Linked DNA regions of Homo sapiens: region 2 is linked to region 1. The links are contacts of gene promoters, found by promoter capture Hi-C in blood cells and fetal thymus (Javierre and others, 2016). All regions are on one chromosome and are shown on one strand. Each heading gives the region's core, a stretch centred on a gene start or on the middle of the fragment in contact. The rest is flanking DNA. Distances are from core to core; before and after follow the strand shown.

Region 1 (7,715 bases), core at 82-2,581:
GAACAGCGAGAAACAAGGTGCTGTTGGGGGTGGGGAGAGGTCCCTCCGTGGCAACCAGGCATCTCTGCAATGATGTTGCGCAGGCTTCCTGGGAGAGGGGGTGTCACTGGAACTGGGATTCCAGCGTCTGCCCCAGAATCCGAGAGGCTTTGGGCTAGATCCCCTCCCCCAGCCTCAGCTGCCCCTGTGGACTCAAGCTATTAGGAGTATTCATGTGCTAATGGGTTGTTCCCAGCAGGGGAGGAGGGATGGCCGTGCCGGGCGGTGTCAGCATTGATGGTTATTCTAATAAAACTGGCTTGGTGGTAAAGGGCGTCTGGCTTCAAGGAGATGGAGGGGGTAGTATAGGGAAAAAGGTGAGGTCCTGAGGGTGGTAACCTACTCTGCAGGCTTTGCCAAGACATCCCTGCTGGCCTAGTTTCTGTATCTGAGGATCAAGGAGGATCTGGATCTCCGAGGAGAGGTCCCATTCCTTGGGCCCGTCTGAAGTTGTGGCCCCAGCCGAGGATCCCCGGGACCATTCCGGGAGGAGGGAACAGTCAAGCCCAGGCGGAGGCTCTGCGCTGCCCTCTGCTGGCCACTGGGTGCAGGGCCTCCGGACGGAGCGGGCCAGAGAGGCCTGCCGCCCTCTGCTGGACAGGAAGCCAGGCTGGGCGGGGACCCCGGCTCCTGGGTAGAGCTGCCGGGCCAGCGCGGCTTCCTCGCCGTCCCCTGGAGCTTCCCATTCTGCCTGCCTCGCCCTCCCGCGCTAGAATGTGGGCCCTCTAGCCTCGCGGACTTTCGAGAGGAGGGGACAGGGCCAGGACGGGGGCTCCCGGTCGGCCTCCCCATGCCGCCCTCCAAACAACCCTGTTCGTGTAGGGAGCCCTGTCCGTCCTCGTGCGTGTGTTCGTCCACAGCCCAGTTAACACGTGTAAACACACTCGCGCGCTCACATGCACACGCATGTGGCAACACAAAAATCACACACAACGGTGTGCGCGCATACACCCAGGGAGGACCGCACGCCGGACTCCCCGACACCCGGCTGGCCCGGGACTCGCCCAGAGCCCCGGACCCGGAGGGGCGCGGCCGTGTGCAGAGCTGGAGCGCCTGGCTGGTGCGCCCCTCGCCTGCGCACCCCTGCCTGTTTCGCTGCCCTAAGCGTGCAGGGCAGCGGCTGGGGCGCCCCTCGCTCTCCGCCCCCTCCGCTGAAAGGAGACGAACCACCCCCCACCCCACCACCACCATCACCAGGTTTTGCGGCCGCGCCTTCTCCTCCCCCGCCCGGCTCCCGCGGCTCACTCGCTCCCTCCTCCCTCGATCCCTCCTCCCTCCCTGGCTCGCTCCTAGTGCTCCCTCCCCGCGCCGCTGCAGAGCGCGGAGCCCGAGCGGGAGCCGGCGCGGGAGCCGGAGCGGGCGGCGGGCGACAGCGCAGGCGGCGGCGGCGGCGGTGGGTCCTGGTCCCGGCCCCGGAGGGCGCGGAGTCCCCACCCGCGCCGCTCCGGCCCCTCTCCCGACGCGGGGCGCCGAGCAGCATGCGCGGCCGCTGCCCGCCGGCCCCGGCCCCGCGGCGGAGCGCGCCCGGCCTCGACCCCGGCCCCAGCGGCAGAGGCGGCGGCGGCGGCTCCGGGCCGGCCCAGGGGGCAGAAGCAGGCTCGCGCAGCCCCTGTCCCGCGGCCTGAGCGCGCCCGCCCATCCGCCCGCCGGGGCCGCGGCCTCCCGCCTCCCCACTCCCGAGCCCCGGCCCCGGCTCCGGCTCGGCTCCCGCCCGCGCGGGGCGGACAGACGGACAGCCAGCCCCGCGAGGGCGCGCGGACTGCCGGGCGGAGGTGTCGGAGGAGGAGGAAACGGAGGAGGGGGCTGGGCAGGGGCTGGGGCCTGGTCGGGCCGGCTGGAGAGACATGCGATTGGTGACCGAGCCGAGCGGACCGAAGGCGCGCCCGAGATGCAGGTGAGCCAGGCGGCCGCGGCCGAGCCCCGAGCGGGCAGCCCCGCGGCGAGTGCCCCTGGGGGCCGCCATCGGCCCTGGCTGCGCCCTCCTGGGGTTGCAGGGCACCTCGGTGCCACCCAGACCTCCTTTGGGGTCATAGGCCTGATTTCCCCTCAAGCCTCAGAAATGAAAATTCTTCCTTTTCCACCTCCCCTCTCTCCAACCCCAACAAATTCCGGGTTTGTAAGCTGGGAGCCTGGAGCTGGGGAGGGGCCCCCACGGGTGTCCCAGACCTGCTCTGGTCTCCCCTTCCTGTCCCCCCTCCCATTCTGAGTATTGGTCACTCTAGAGGGTAAGCCCCCTGCTCAGCCCTGGGTGGGTACCTCCCTTCGTGGACCCCAGGTACCCCCAGGCAGCCCCCACCAGCACCAGACACTCCCTAGCTGGTGGACACAGGTCAGGGGCTGGGTTTCTCCACAAGCTCCAGCCTGGATGGCAGCTCCCCACCACACACAAGCATCGCCCCTTTCCAGCTCCTGCCCAGTGAAAAGGAGATGGGGAGTAGGGAGAGTGGAAGGAAGGGAGTTGGGGACCGGGAGCGCCCAGGAACGCTTTAGGGGCCTCCCCTTTGTCTGCGTTCAGCCCGGGCTTCTCACCTCCTCTTGCCCCACTTTTCATTCTAAGGCAGAGCGGGTGGGAGGTGGGAACCAGCTGAGAAGAGGGAGGTAAGGAGGGAGCCTCCTGCTCCCCCTCACACCCTTTTCGGGGTGGGCTGTGGGCTCTCTGCTCTCAAGGCATGCCAGGAGATGTGACCCTCCGGGCGGATCCCACTTTGAGAAGGAGGGGTGGGGCCAGGCCAGTGGGCAGCCCCTCCCGGTTCCTGCTGGGGTCGCAGCCCAGCCTGGTCCAGCCTGACTGTGCCTGCACCTCCTCTTTGTTCTCAGAGGCCTTGGGGTTGGGGTGGGGCAGAAGGGGGCCTGAGAGGATGGGAAGAGCTCTGCCCTGAGCGGGTGGGAGTGCAGGAGGCCCTGAGGTAGGGGCTGTGGCATCTGGACAGCCCCTTCCTGCTCGCCCAGCCCTCCCTCAGTCCTCTGCTTGGTTTGGGCAGCCAGAGGGCGCATAGCCCAGCCTGGCCCGCGGCTCTGGGCTCAACCCTGTTGGTCATTATGCCAGTGGCTTCAGCACTGGTGCCTCCCATGCCCAGGGAGCAATGAGCCGGGACACCCAGGCGGCAGAGAGCCTGGGGCTTCCCCAGATCCAGCGCAGAGTGTCAGTGAGGAGAAGAGGGCCAGCTGCTCCCAGACCCTTTGTCCTTGTATAAGCCAGGGAGGAGCTCAAAATCCTCACGCCTCTGGGAAGGCACTAGCAGCAGGTCTACTGGGATGGCATGCCTGTCCTTCCTGCTTTCTACCCGTGGCCCGAGGTGGGAGGGAGGGTATAGGGTGGCACCGGGGAGAGACCAATAACTCCTTGGAACCGTGCTGAAAGAGGGCACAGACTCACATCGGGGATCCCAGCAGCACCCAGCTGCCCCTCCTGGAAGGGGCTTAGCGAAGGCAGGGACAGGCACCCTGTGGTGTTCTTGTCTCTGCCCCCCTCCTCACCCCCTGACAATTTAAGTGTGAGCCCCTGGGTAGGGCTTAGTTAAAGCTGCAGTGTTCCCCAGGTTCTGGAGTTAAAGAGTGGGAACCAGCTTTTAGGGGGATGGGCATGTGCTCAAAGCCAAGGGCCCTGTGTGACTGGGAGGGAGGTGGAGAGACTTACCCCTTGCGATAGTCCTCTTTCATCTGGGCTCATCTTCATCCTCTGTCCTCTGGGCATCCATTTCTCCTATATTGGGTATTGTTTTCTAAAACCCAGACTCCCAGAGGGACACCTCCCCCACCCCAACCCCCCAAAAAACAACCTCTTGTGGAGGTGGGTGGTTGTTCTGCATGAGGCTAGACGGGATCCCTGGTGCCGGTGAGGGCTCATGTGTGGTGCTGCTCTTCAGGCGCCTTCAGCCGCAGATATCTGGAGAAGCACAATTGGGGTTGGGGCGTGTTCCTGTTGGGAGATAAGGCAGTGCAGTCATTCGTGCAGGGTCCCACGGAGGCATGAGGCAGCGTGTCCAGTGGAGGGTAGGGGAAGTGGAGCCAGGGAAGGGTGGGGGGCGGTGGGTAGTAGGTGTGGTGGTTTCAGAGTCAGGGCCTTAGCTTGCTGGCTGGAGTCTCTTGGGCTAGCTGTCCTGTGTGTGGCACTCTGTGGAAGTGGCCTTCCAGCCCCACCCACCTCCATGGTTAGTCTCTGGAGGCTTTCTGTTCTGTTTCCACCAGTTCCTCCACGTATCCCCCCATCCTCACCTGGCTTGGCCCCGCATCCCCTCACAAAAGGTCCTTTCCTCTCCTTCTCCTGACCCCCTCCTCCAAGAAGCCTCTCTGCCTGCTTCAAGTCATTGCCCCTCCTTCTCCAGTCACCCACAGCATAGAACCACACTTGTTTGCACTGAATATTGTACCAGCCCAGTCACGCATGCATTTGTTCTGCACATCCTAGCCAAGCTGCCTGCTCGGCTCTGGGCTAAGCATGATCTGCCTTGAACACCCTGAGCAATCCTAGTACCCTTCCTTTTGCCCTCCTGCCTGGCCCCTGGGATGGGACAGACCCTTGGAGGTACAAGGGAGTAGCTATTGGCTAGCGGCAAGGACTATCTGTGCATGAATGCACAGAGCTAGATGATGTCAAAGATGCCCCAGGCAGGGGTTGAGAAGAGACAGACAGGGTACTCAGTAGCCCACACAGGCACTCAGAGAAGGGTGAGATTTCTCCCTGGGGGTTGAGGTTGTCAGAGGTGCTTTAGGAAGAGAGGGAGACTGGCTGAGTCCTAGGGAAGCAGCAGACTGCAGAGACACAGAGAGCAGGGGACTCCAGAATCAGGGAAGGTTCTTTGTAGAAAGAGTGTGAGAAGGCAGGTTCATTTCCCAATACATTTAAGGCATTCTTGATGCTGACCTCTGTTTGGTTGTGGAAGAATGAATGAATGAATGAATGAACGAACAAGCGAACGAATGAATATCCCTGGGTGCTGTGGGCTCAGTAGAGCTGTGCTGACAACAATCTACTTGTGTGTGTTCAGTTTCTTCAATGTTATTTCATAGTGAAGTTGTTAAGAATGTGGACCCTGGAGCCAAAAGTCTGGGCTCAAGTCTCAGCTCCACCACTGCCTAGTTCTGTGACTTTGGGCAAGTTACTTAATCTCTCTGGGCCTGTTTCCTTATCTATAAAGTGAGAGTAACAATAGTATCCACCTCAAGGGAGGTCGTGACAATTAGGTGTGCTAACATATGCAAAACATTTAGAACACTGCCTGGTACACAGTAAGCCTGTAATAAGTGCTAGCTACTCATAGTTTACATCAGTGATATGCTCATGATCTTATCCTTGTAGGTGGTAGGTGCAGAGGTTTGATTTTATACCCAAGAAAACAGAGCCAGAGAGGTGGCGAGTGACTTGCTGTGAGTCCCCAGCTTGCAAGCCTGCGGTTCAGTCTAGAATGCCTTCTTCCTGACCTCTGGGCTGGGGCTCTTACTCACTAATCCAGGCCCAGCCTGTTAATTAATTAATCGAGGCATTTAGTATTAATCGTAGTAGCAGTAATAATACTATAATGAACACTGTTACCCTACTCTCCAACTTAAACACCAGCAATCCAGTAATGATGTACATCTCCCCATGTGCTCCTGCACACCCCGTCCCGTTGCCTCTTTTTCAATGACTACTCTAAATTATGTATTTCACAATCCCTTGCCTCTTTAAAATTATATATTTTAACATATATAAGTAGTTCAGTTTTAGTTATTTTTGAACTTTATAAAAAGAGCATGAACTGTGTGCAGTCCTCTGGAATTTGCCTTTTTTCTTTATCACATTTAAGCTTCATCTATATTGTTGTGAATAATAGTAGTTGTAGCTCATTTTCACTGATGTATAATGTTCTGTCATGTGATCCTAAAAGTGTAATTAACATTCTCCTACCAATGGACATTTAGGTTATTTCCATTTTTTGCTCTTACAAACAATGCTGCCAGGAACCTTCTCATCCCATCTCTGAGGCAACATGCAGTGTCTCTGGGGCACACAGCTAGGAGCAGAATTGCTGGCCTGTAGGGCATGTTCGCATTCACTCTTACTAGGATATTTGCCAAAGTGTTTTCCAAATTGGTTAGACCAGTTTGCATCACCCCAGCAGGAGATGAGTGTCCCCATTGCACCCCATCCTGATCAACACTCGGTATTGTCAGGGGCCTTGATTTTTACTGATTGAATGAATGTAAGATGGTATTTCATGATGGCCTTGATTTGCATTTCTGGAATTCAAGGTTTCTGGTATATGAAATGTGGGTTGAGATGGGCAGCAGCCAGTGTGTACTAGGTGCTCACTAAGCAGTCATCCCATCGGCACCCGTTCCCCCAGTTGTGGGGATGCTGTCTTTACCATCCCTGAAGTCTGGGATGGATATGAGCAATCAGGGAGGACTCCCCAAGCAAGTAGGATGAAGGAGGAGCAAGAAGGGCTTAAGTCCCTGCATGTTTAGTGCAAACAAAGGACAGCAAATTCCAGGAACCCCAGAGGCTTTGTGTTTACCCCAGGATGGGAAGGAGTGGTCCTAGCTTAAGAGGTGGAGGGAGCCTGTGTTTCATTATTTTAGCATCCCCTCCTCCTGCACAGCCCCCCTGTGCACCTGGCATGAAGCCTGGCATTGCTGAGCACTTAATAAGAGTTTGGTGACCCAGGGAATGAACCCCGGATGGAACAAATGTGTGCTTGCTCCTCCTCCATTCTCACTTGCTTGGGGAGTCCTCTCTGACTGCTCTTGCTCATGGATCGAATGAGGGGTGGCTGAGCAAGGTGACTCCGGGGCATTGCAGGGCCCCGACCCGCGAGGCCCTCCAGATCCTTGCCAGCCCAGAGGGTCTGAGAAGCTGGGTGCTGGCAGGCTAATTTGGAGCAGCTCCCTTTGCCAGCCTGGTACACCAACGATTGATTCCACGCTGCCTTTTCTGCCTGGGCCTGGGCCCCTGGAGCTGGTTAAAGACGAGCACCGGGGCTGGCGGAATAATTATGCCTATTTCATGTGACACCCAAATTGATTGCCGCCAGGGTGACATTACCAGGGCATTGTTCCTCGTCTCCAACCTCTTATTACATGTTATTAGGGTGTGTGGTGTGTGTGTTTTTCTATTTTTTCCCCTTTCAGGGAATTAATCTCTCTCTGCCACCTCCTCTACTTCCCTCTGCAGAGAACCTGCTCTCGCCTCTGGGAGGGGGTGGGGGCCTGGCCAGCACGCTTCTTCTGCCTAGCCCAGTGCAGGGCTGCGGATGGGGGGTTGGGGGGGCGGGGACTGGCCATCTCAAGTCCCTTTACTTGGATGCAACACGGGGGCATCTCAGAGCTGAGAGGGGCTACTGAGGTGTAGATCCCAGCAGAGGAGGCCTCCTGCAGTAGCCTTGATCCATGGTCTCAGCTTGCATGCCTCCCATGATGGGCTTCTTACTTACTACCGAGGCAGACCTTCTGTCCTGAGCCGTCTAATGTCTCATCGGATTCCTCACACTGAGCTGAATGGGCCTCCCTGTGAGCCCACCCATGGGTCTTGGCTCCCCTCTCTGGGCCTGCAGTAGACCTTTGCAGCCTCTGCCTTGATAAGCTCCTTAGAGATTTGCAGAGGTGCCAGTTCCTCCCCCAAGTCTGGGCTTCTTATGAACGGGCAGCCGGGTAGTGGCATCCATTGTGCCTGAACAGGACATTCCTCCTGTATGTGT
Region 2 (6,715 bases), core at 1,424-3,923, 220 kb before region 1:
ATAAATGTGTTTGCAATAACACAGCAAGCACCTTTAAACTCAGAGCTCAACCCAAGATCTGGAACCTTAACAATATTTGTACCTACCTTTGTGCCCCTCCCTCTGTCCCTCTCCCTTCTCCCTGCCGCCTCCTCAGAGGTCAGCACTATGCTGAATTTTGTATGTATTACTCCCTTATCTTTTTTTTCTTTTTTTTTTTTAAGAGATGGGGTCTCTCCCTGTTGCCCAGGCTGGAGTGCAGGGGTGTGATCATAGCTCACTGAAGCCTCAAACTCTTGGCCTCAAGTGATCTTCTTGCATTGGCCTCCCAAAGTGCTTAGATTACAGGTGTGAACCACTATGTCCAGGCCCTCTTGCCCTTTCAAACATAAATTTATCTCTGCTTTTCCTTTTTCCTTTTTTTTTTTTTTTTTTTTGTTGGAGACAGAGTCTTGCTCTGTTGCCCAGGCTGAAGTGCACTGGCACGATCTCAGCTCACTGCAACCTCCACCTCCCAGGCTCGAGTGATCCTCCCACCTTAGCCTTGTGAGTAGCTGGGACTATAGGCACTCACCACCATGATCAGCTAAATTTTTAAATTTTGTGTGTGTGTGTGTGTATTTTTTGTAGAGATGGGGATTCACCATGTTGGCCAGGCTGGTTGCAAACTCCTGAGCTCAACTGATCTGCCCGCCTGGGCCTCCCAAAGTGCTAGGATTATGGGCATGAGCCATCACGCCTGGCCTAAATTTGTTTCTGTATCAGTTAGGATAAACTAGGTTACACCACAGTAACAACCCCCAGTCTCAGTGGCTTGCCCTGAAAGAGGCTTCTTTTTCTGCCAATGCAGTTTGGCAGAGGCTCTGCTCATTGCAGGCACTCAGGGACCCAGGCATGTGGATGGCACAGCCACTATCTAATGATACTGCCATTTCAACTCTAAGTTCTGGGGTTTGCTTTGGTTGGGGGAGGAAAAGAATAAGAAATATGTGCCAGCTCTTAGACGTTTCTGCTCAAAAGTGATGCCGAGCACTTTTGCTGACATTTTACTGGCCAAAGCTCTTCCCAAGGCTATCCCTAATTTCAAGAGGGCATGAAGGAAAAATGCCTTCCAAAATGAAGGAAGAACCAGAAGACTCATTGAACATGGGTAATTCCGCCACAACCACATATCTGTGGATGCCTAAGCAATACATTGCTGATTTGAGCTGTTTGTGATCTTTATAAAAAGGCATCGTGTTATATATGATCTTCTGAGATTTACTTTTTCACTCAACATCATGTTAAGATTCACACATACTATTGTACATAGTGGTCTTTTTTTTTTTTCAATTTCATTGCAGTACAGTATTCCATGGAAAGATTCTGCCCCCATGTATCCATTTTCCTTTCAAAAGGCATTTAAGTTGTTCTAATTTGTTTGCTGTAATGGACACTGCTCCTGTGAATGGTCTCTTCTTGCAACTTCATTTTGATTTCATCAGTCCAAGCTGCAGATTTTGAGCTACTTGCAGCTCCTGAGAGTTCTGTGCAGCTCCTGCCTCAGTCTTCAGGCCCCAGGTCCCAGGCAGTCCAGCCTCTCAGGGTGGAGGCTCCTCAATTCTCTGTGGTCCCTCCCAGCCAGCTGAGCAAGGAGCCAGTGCACAACCCTCCCCTCTGTGCAGCAACTTCTGCTTCCTGCTGCTCTCATCTTAACAATGGGAGGCAGAGCTGGGGTGCAGGTGAGGGCAGCATGTCAGGTGGGAAGCTTCCTCTGAGAAACACCCATTGTGCTGGGTGCTGGAGATGCAAAGAATAACTCATTCATTTACAAAGCAGACATTTATTTCCTTCCTTTTATGTGTGGTACTCCGTTACAGTGGGACCACAGAGATAAAGGACCTGCCCTCAAGGAGCTCATAGTCAAGTTGAGGAAACAGAGACATAAATAAATCACTGTTTTTGCTGACACATAAGATGTGCAGGTGTCTAAGTCTCATTGCGATTTTATAAATCTAAGTATGTCTAGTCATATATGTCTCCATGTCTCTCTCTGCCTATCTAATAAACATGATTTTATTTACGTAAATTTGGCATCATCTATACTGGGATAGAATGAGAAACCAGATCTTGATTGATGGGTATTATTTTTATAGATCATAAAGTTCCTGAGCTAATACCTGTTTTTAATTCTTCTAGTTGGGTCACTTTAAAATTTCCCTAGAGAGATAGGCTGGCTGCAGCTTTCAGATGTGCTTTTGATCTTCTCCTGGTCTTTATCTTCTTTTTTTTATTCTCAGTTGCTGGTGGACCAAAATATCCCTGCATTCCCTTGGGAAGTTAATATTCAGCTTGACCCTAATGTTATAGCAATGCTTCCACTGCTTTTGAGCAATGGCTTACATTCACATCTGAAATGCTGGAGAAAGAACCCATATCCTACCTCTGATCAGTCATGTGGCTTGTTGCGGCTTTAATTAAGAGTACCTACGGGAAGTGATCCTGGAATCTTTTCATTTTTTTTTGCCACAGGGTCTGGTTATGTTGCTTAGGCTGATCTTGAACACCTGGGCTCAAGCATCCTTCCACCTCAGCTTTCCAAATAGCTGGGGCTATCGGCGTGTGCCTGGCATGCTGGAATCTTTATTGTGATGTCTTGGGCTGCCTCGTCCAGCCCCACTTCAAGAGGGTGGCATTGTTGTATGTACCCACAAATTAGGGACCTTGATGTGGGCAGCCCAGGAGATGTGGGTCCCCAGATGAGGGTGCCTCTGACTCTGCTTGTGTAGGGAACACGTCGGTAGGGGAATTCACTGAGATGGTGGTGTACCAGTGGAGTCTTGAAGAACCAGCTCGTGTTATCCAGGAAGAGGAGAAGAGCTGGAATTCCAGGACAAGAGAATAGCATGTGCAGCGCCATGACAGGACCTGGTGCCAATAGGAGGCAGTGAGTTATTTGCAGTGGCCAGGACAGAAGCCCACTGCAGGGGATCTTGCCATGTTGCCCAGGCTGGTCTCGAACTCCTGGGCTCATGCAACCCTCCTGCCTCAGCCTCCCAAAGTGCTCGGATTATAGGTGTGAGCCACCACTCCAGGCCTTTAACCGTTTTTAAATGTACAATTCAGTGGCGTTAAGTGCATTCAAAATGTTGTGCAAACAAAACATCACTACTATCCATTTCAAGAACTTCTGCATCATCTCAAACAGAAACTGTACCCACTAAACAGTTAGTCCCCGTCCCCCTTCCCCTAGCCTCTGGTGACCTCTTTACTACTTCATGTCTCTATGAATTGGCCTATTTTAGATACTTCATGTAAGTGGAATCGTAAAACATTTGTCCTCGTGTGCTTGTGTGTCTGGCTCATTTCATTTAGTATAACGATTTTAAGTTTCACCCATGTTGTAGCATGTATCAGAATTTCATTTCTGTTTATGGCTGAATTTTATTATTATGTGATGGAATTCTGACTTCTTCCTGGACGCACTGGGTTGCCAGGAGAGTTTTATAGTCAGAGAACACCTGCTGTTTAGGACAGTTTCTGACCCTGGATGCAAGGATAAGGAGGAGGTGGAGGCCTGCAGAAAACTGTGGCCAACGTTCAGCAACAGAATTATGACCCTTCGATCGCTGGTGTGGCCTCGCCTCCTCCAGGAAGCTTGTCCTCCACTCTGAAACCTCCAGGGCGCTTTCTGTCTTGTGCATTTCAGCAGCTGAACCGCTGAGTATCTGCTATTCTTTTTGATCTTTTGGCATGTGAGGACTGTGCCCCAGGCACTCTGGGACTCCCAGGCCAGGCCCCCAGCTTCTCCTCCCTCTGACCCCCACAGCACAGCCCAGTGCATAGCTGAGGCCTCAGTGGACACTGGAGTTGGGGGTCAGGGAGAAGGGTCGCCCCAGATATGTCTGGCAGACGTGCCTCTGGCTGAACCCACTCCCGCTCCTGCCTCTCCTGCTCCCAGCCGTTCCTTTGGGTTTGGGCTGCATCCCACCAGCCAGCACCCCACCCCTAGCGCCCGCGGAAGGTTTCATCTCCCGAGCTGGGTTGAAAGAAACAGAATAAGTCCCTGGGGTGTCGATAACAGGGTTATAATCCAGCGGGATGAGACTGAACTCCCTGGAGTCTCATAGCATTTTTCCAGCCCTGGTCGCTTTATTACTATATCGCTGACTGATGGGGCTCCGGGGAGCTGTGGTTCCAGCAGCCGCTCTGCTGCCACACCCCGTTTGTAATTGATCAAGCTGCAGTTGGACTGAGCAAATTCATGCCCCTTCCTGCCCCTTGCGCTCTGTTCTCCCCTCCTTTTCCTCTCTCTTCTGCTCCTGAGGCTTCCGCTTTGGGCAGTGGAGATTCGGTCCCCGTTGCCACAGGCCTCGAGCTTGTGAGGTGCCGGCAACTGCTGCAACTCTGGAGGCTGCAGACTCAGGTCCGCTTCCCTGTTGTGTGAGCTTGGGCAGGGGGCTCACCCTTTCTGGGCCTCCATCTCCTGCCCAGAGCAATAAGGGGATTGAGCTAATGTGCTCTGAGGCTTCATTTAGCCCTGACTGCTCCGTGACTTATTTTTGAGTCTTCGATGTGAATTTGTACAATGTTTTCTTCTAAGACTGTGACAGTGTGAAGGAATTGGGTGGGACCTGCTTTCCCTCTACTCCCCGGGAGTTCCAGGCAATGGGGGCATCACTCCTCTTTCCCCTTGGGATACGTGTTACTAGCCCCAGGCTGGTGGGCTGGTGACTCTCTTCAAGGCTGCCTTAGAGTCCAACCCATTAGGTCAGAGCTCGTGGGGGAATCCGATGCCATCCTGACTCAATCAATGGGAGCCCACAAAGGGAGAGAAGTGGCAGAGCTGGCCTGGCAGAGAGCCCAGAGCTGCATCCAGCCTCTGCTCTAATTGTGCCCACAGATCGCTGGATGCCTGTGCACTCTAGAAGCTCTCTGGGGAAGGACATTTCACAGATGAGGGACTTTACCAGTCCGGGGTTTTATAAGCGCACTGCTGGGCCAAGTCACTCTCATGAGCAGTTGTCAATGATTTACCTTTCTTCCCAAGTAGGCGGAGATATTAACTAAGGGATGGCTGGGCCTCACTTTAAGCAGCTGCAAAGAAGAATGATGATTTTCTAACAAGAGCTTTTTTTCTGTCCACCTTGAATGCTCTATCTCTGGACTTGTAAGACAATCCTTCCTGCTGATTGCGAGTAAAGGTGAGCCTCAGACACCAGGTGATGGAGACAGTGCTCTGTCCATCAATGCCACAGCTCCATCTGGTTCTAAGATCTGTCAGACTCCCCAAGAGAGAGTGAGGGGAGGCTGGACTGCTAAACAGCATCCCCTGGGGCATTGGCATTGCCTGTCTCTGGCCTGGGGAACGAGGTCTCGTACACAAGATTGGTCTGAATCAGCCCCAGGAATGAGACTTCACAATCTCCCTGCATCTTGGGGGTGGTCTGGGGAGAGGGGAAAAGCTGGGGTGGTGAGGGGAGGCAACCTGCGTTCCATTTCTAGCTGTGCCATTAATCATCACGTGACCACAGACAAGCGCCTGTGCCTCTCTGACCCTCAGCCACTCCCCACTTCCCTGGGTGTTGACAGGATAAACATGAGGCTAGGGTCCTAAAAGTATCTGGCAAAGATTTCTCCCCCGGCGCCTTGGTCAACACATTCATGCCTCTATCTAAAGTCCATCCTCAAACCTCCAAAAAAATCAGGTATAATGGGACTACCCAAACAAGTTATAACTTTTCAAAGATAGACACAGAATGAAAAGTTTTTACAGGATGTAAAATGAGACTCTGCAGTTCGGTTATGATAGATGAAATTGTTTCACCTCTCTACCTCTCTTTTTTTTTTTTTTGTTTCCAATTTTAAAAAGTTTTCATTGAGTGCCGTGGCTCATGCCTATAATCCCAGCACTTTGGGAGGCCAAGGCGGGCAGATGGCTTGAGCCCAGGAGGTCAAGACCAGCCTGGGCAACATGGTGACATCCTGTCTCTACTAAAAATACAAAAATAATTAGCCGGGCTTTGTGGTGTGCACCAGTAGTCCCAGCTACTGATGGGCTGAGGTGGGAGGATCGCTTAAGCCCAGAAGGTTGAGCCTACAGTGAGCCAAGATTGGGCTACTGCACTCCAGCCTGGGTGACAGAGCGAGACCTTGTCTCAATTAAAAAAAAAAAAAAAGTTTGCTCCTTTCTTTTCTCTTTTCCTCCTTCTACTTTCTTTGGGCTTATTCTTTTGTTCTTTTTCTTCCTTTTTGAGTTAAATCACTGATATTTGCTTTGAATCTTTTCTCTACTTTCGTAAATTCATTGAAGGCTATACATTTGCTTCCAAATATTGCCTTAGCTGCACCTCACAAGCTATAAATTGTATTTATAACCTTTAGTGGTTACTTTTTTCCAATTTTTTTCATTGTGGTAAAATACGCCTAACATAAAATGTATCACCTTAACCATTTTAAAGTGCAGGGTTGTTGTTGTTAAATACATTAATAATGTTGTGCAACTGTCACCACCATTCAGATTCATAACTGTTTTAATCTTGTAAAACTGAAACTCTGTACAATTAAATAATTCCCCATTTCCCCCTCCCTCAAGTCCCTGGCAACCACCATTCTAACATATCTATTTCTGTGATTTTGACTATTGTAGATGCCTCATGTAAGTGGAAACATACAATATCTGCTCTTTTGGCTGGTTTATTTCACTTAGCATAATGTTCTCAAGATTCCTCCAAATTGTAGCATGGGTTATAGTTTC

What was found. Contacts are between HindIII fragments. The CHiCAGO score rates a contact against its expected background, and 5 or more counts as called.
Region 2: a contact is called between a fragment that was not itself captured here and the fragment with the promoter of LINGO1 in region 1, in 2 of 17 cell types (endothelial precursors and M1 macrophages). The highest score is 6.4, in endothelial precursors.

The regions. Positions count from the first base shown.
Region 1 is chr15:77,626,528-77,634,242 of GRCh38, reverse strand. It overlaps LINGO1 (leucine rich repeat and Ig domain containing 1), which reads left to right and starts at 1,331. Exons shown (of 2, transcript NM_032808.7): 1 at 1,331-1,933. The coding sequence starts at 1,928. LOC105370906 (a long non-coding RNA gene) reads right to left here. Exons shown (of 4, transcript XR_001751806.2): 4 at 3,782-3,958. RefSeq lists enhancers at 378-507, 1-512, 3,907-4,472. The HindIII fragment of the contact is 14,548 bases long and covers 1-5,827 here.
Region 2 is chr15:77,850,044-77,856,758 of GRCh38, reverse strand. No RefSeq gene overlaps it. Among named protein-coding and RNA genes, the nearest start is that of LINGO1-AS2, 190 kb to the right of the region's middle. The HindIII fragment of the contact is 1,889 bases long and covers 1,729-3,617 here.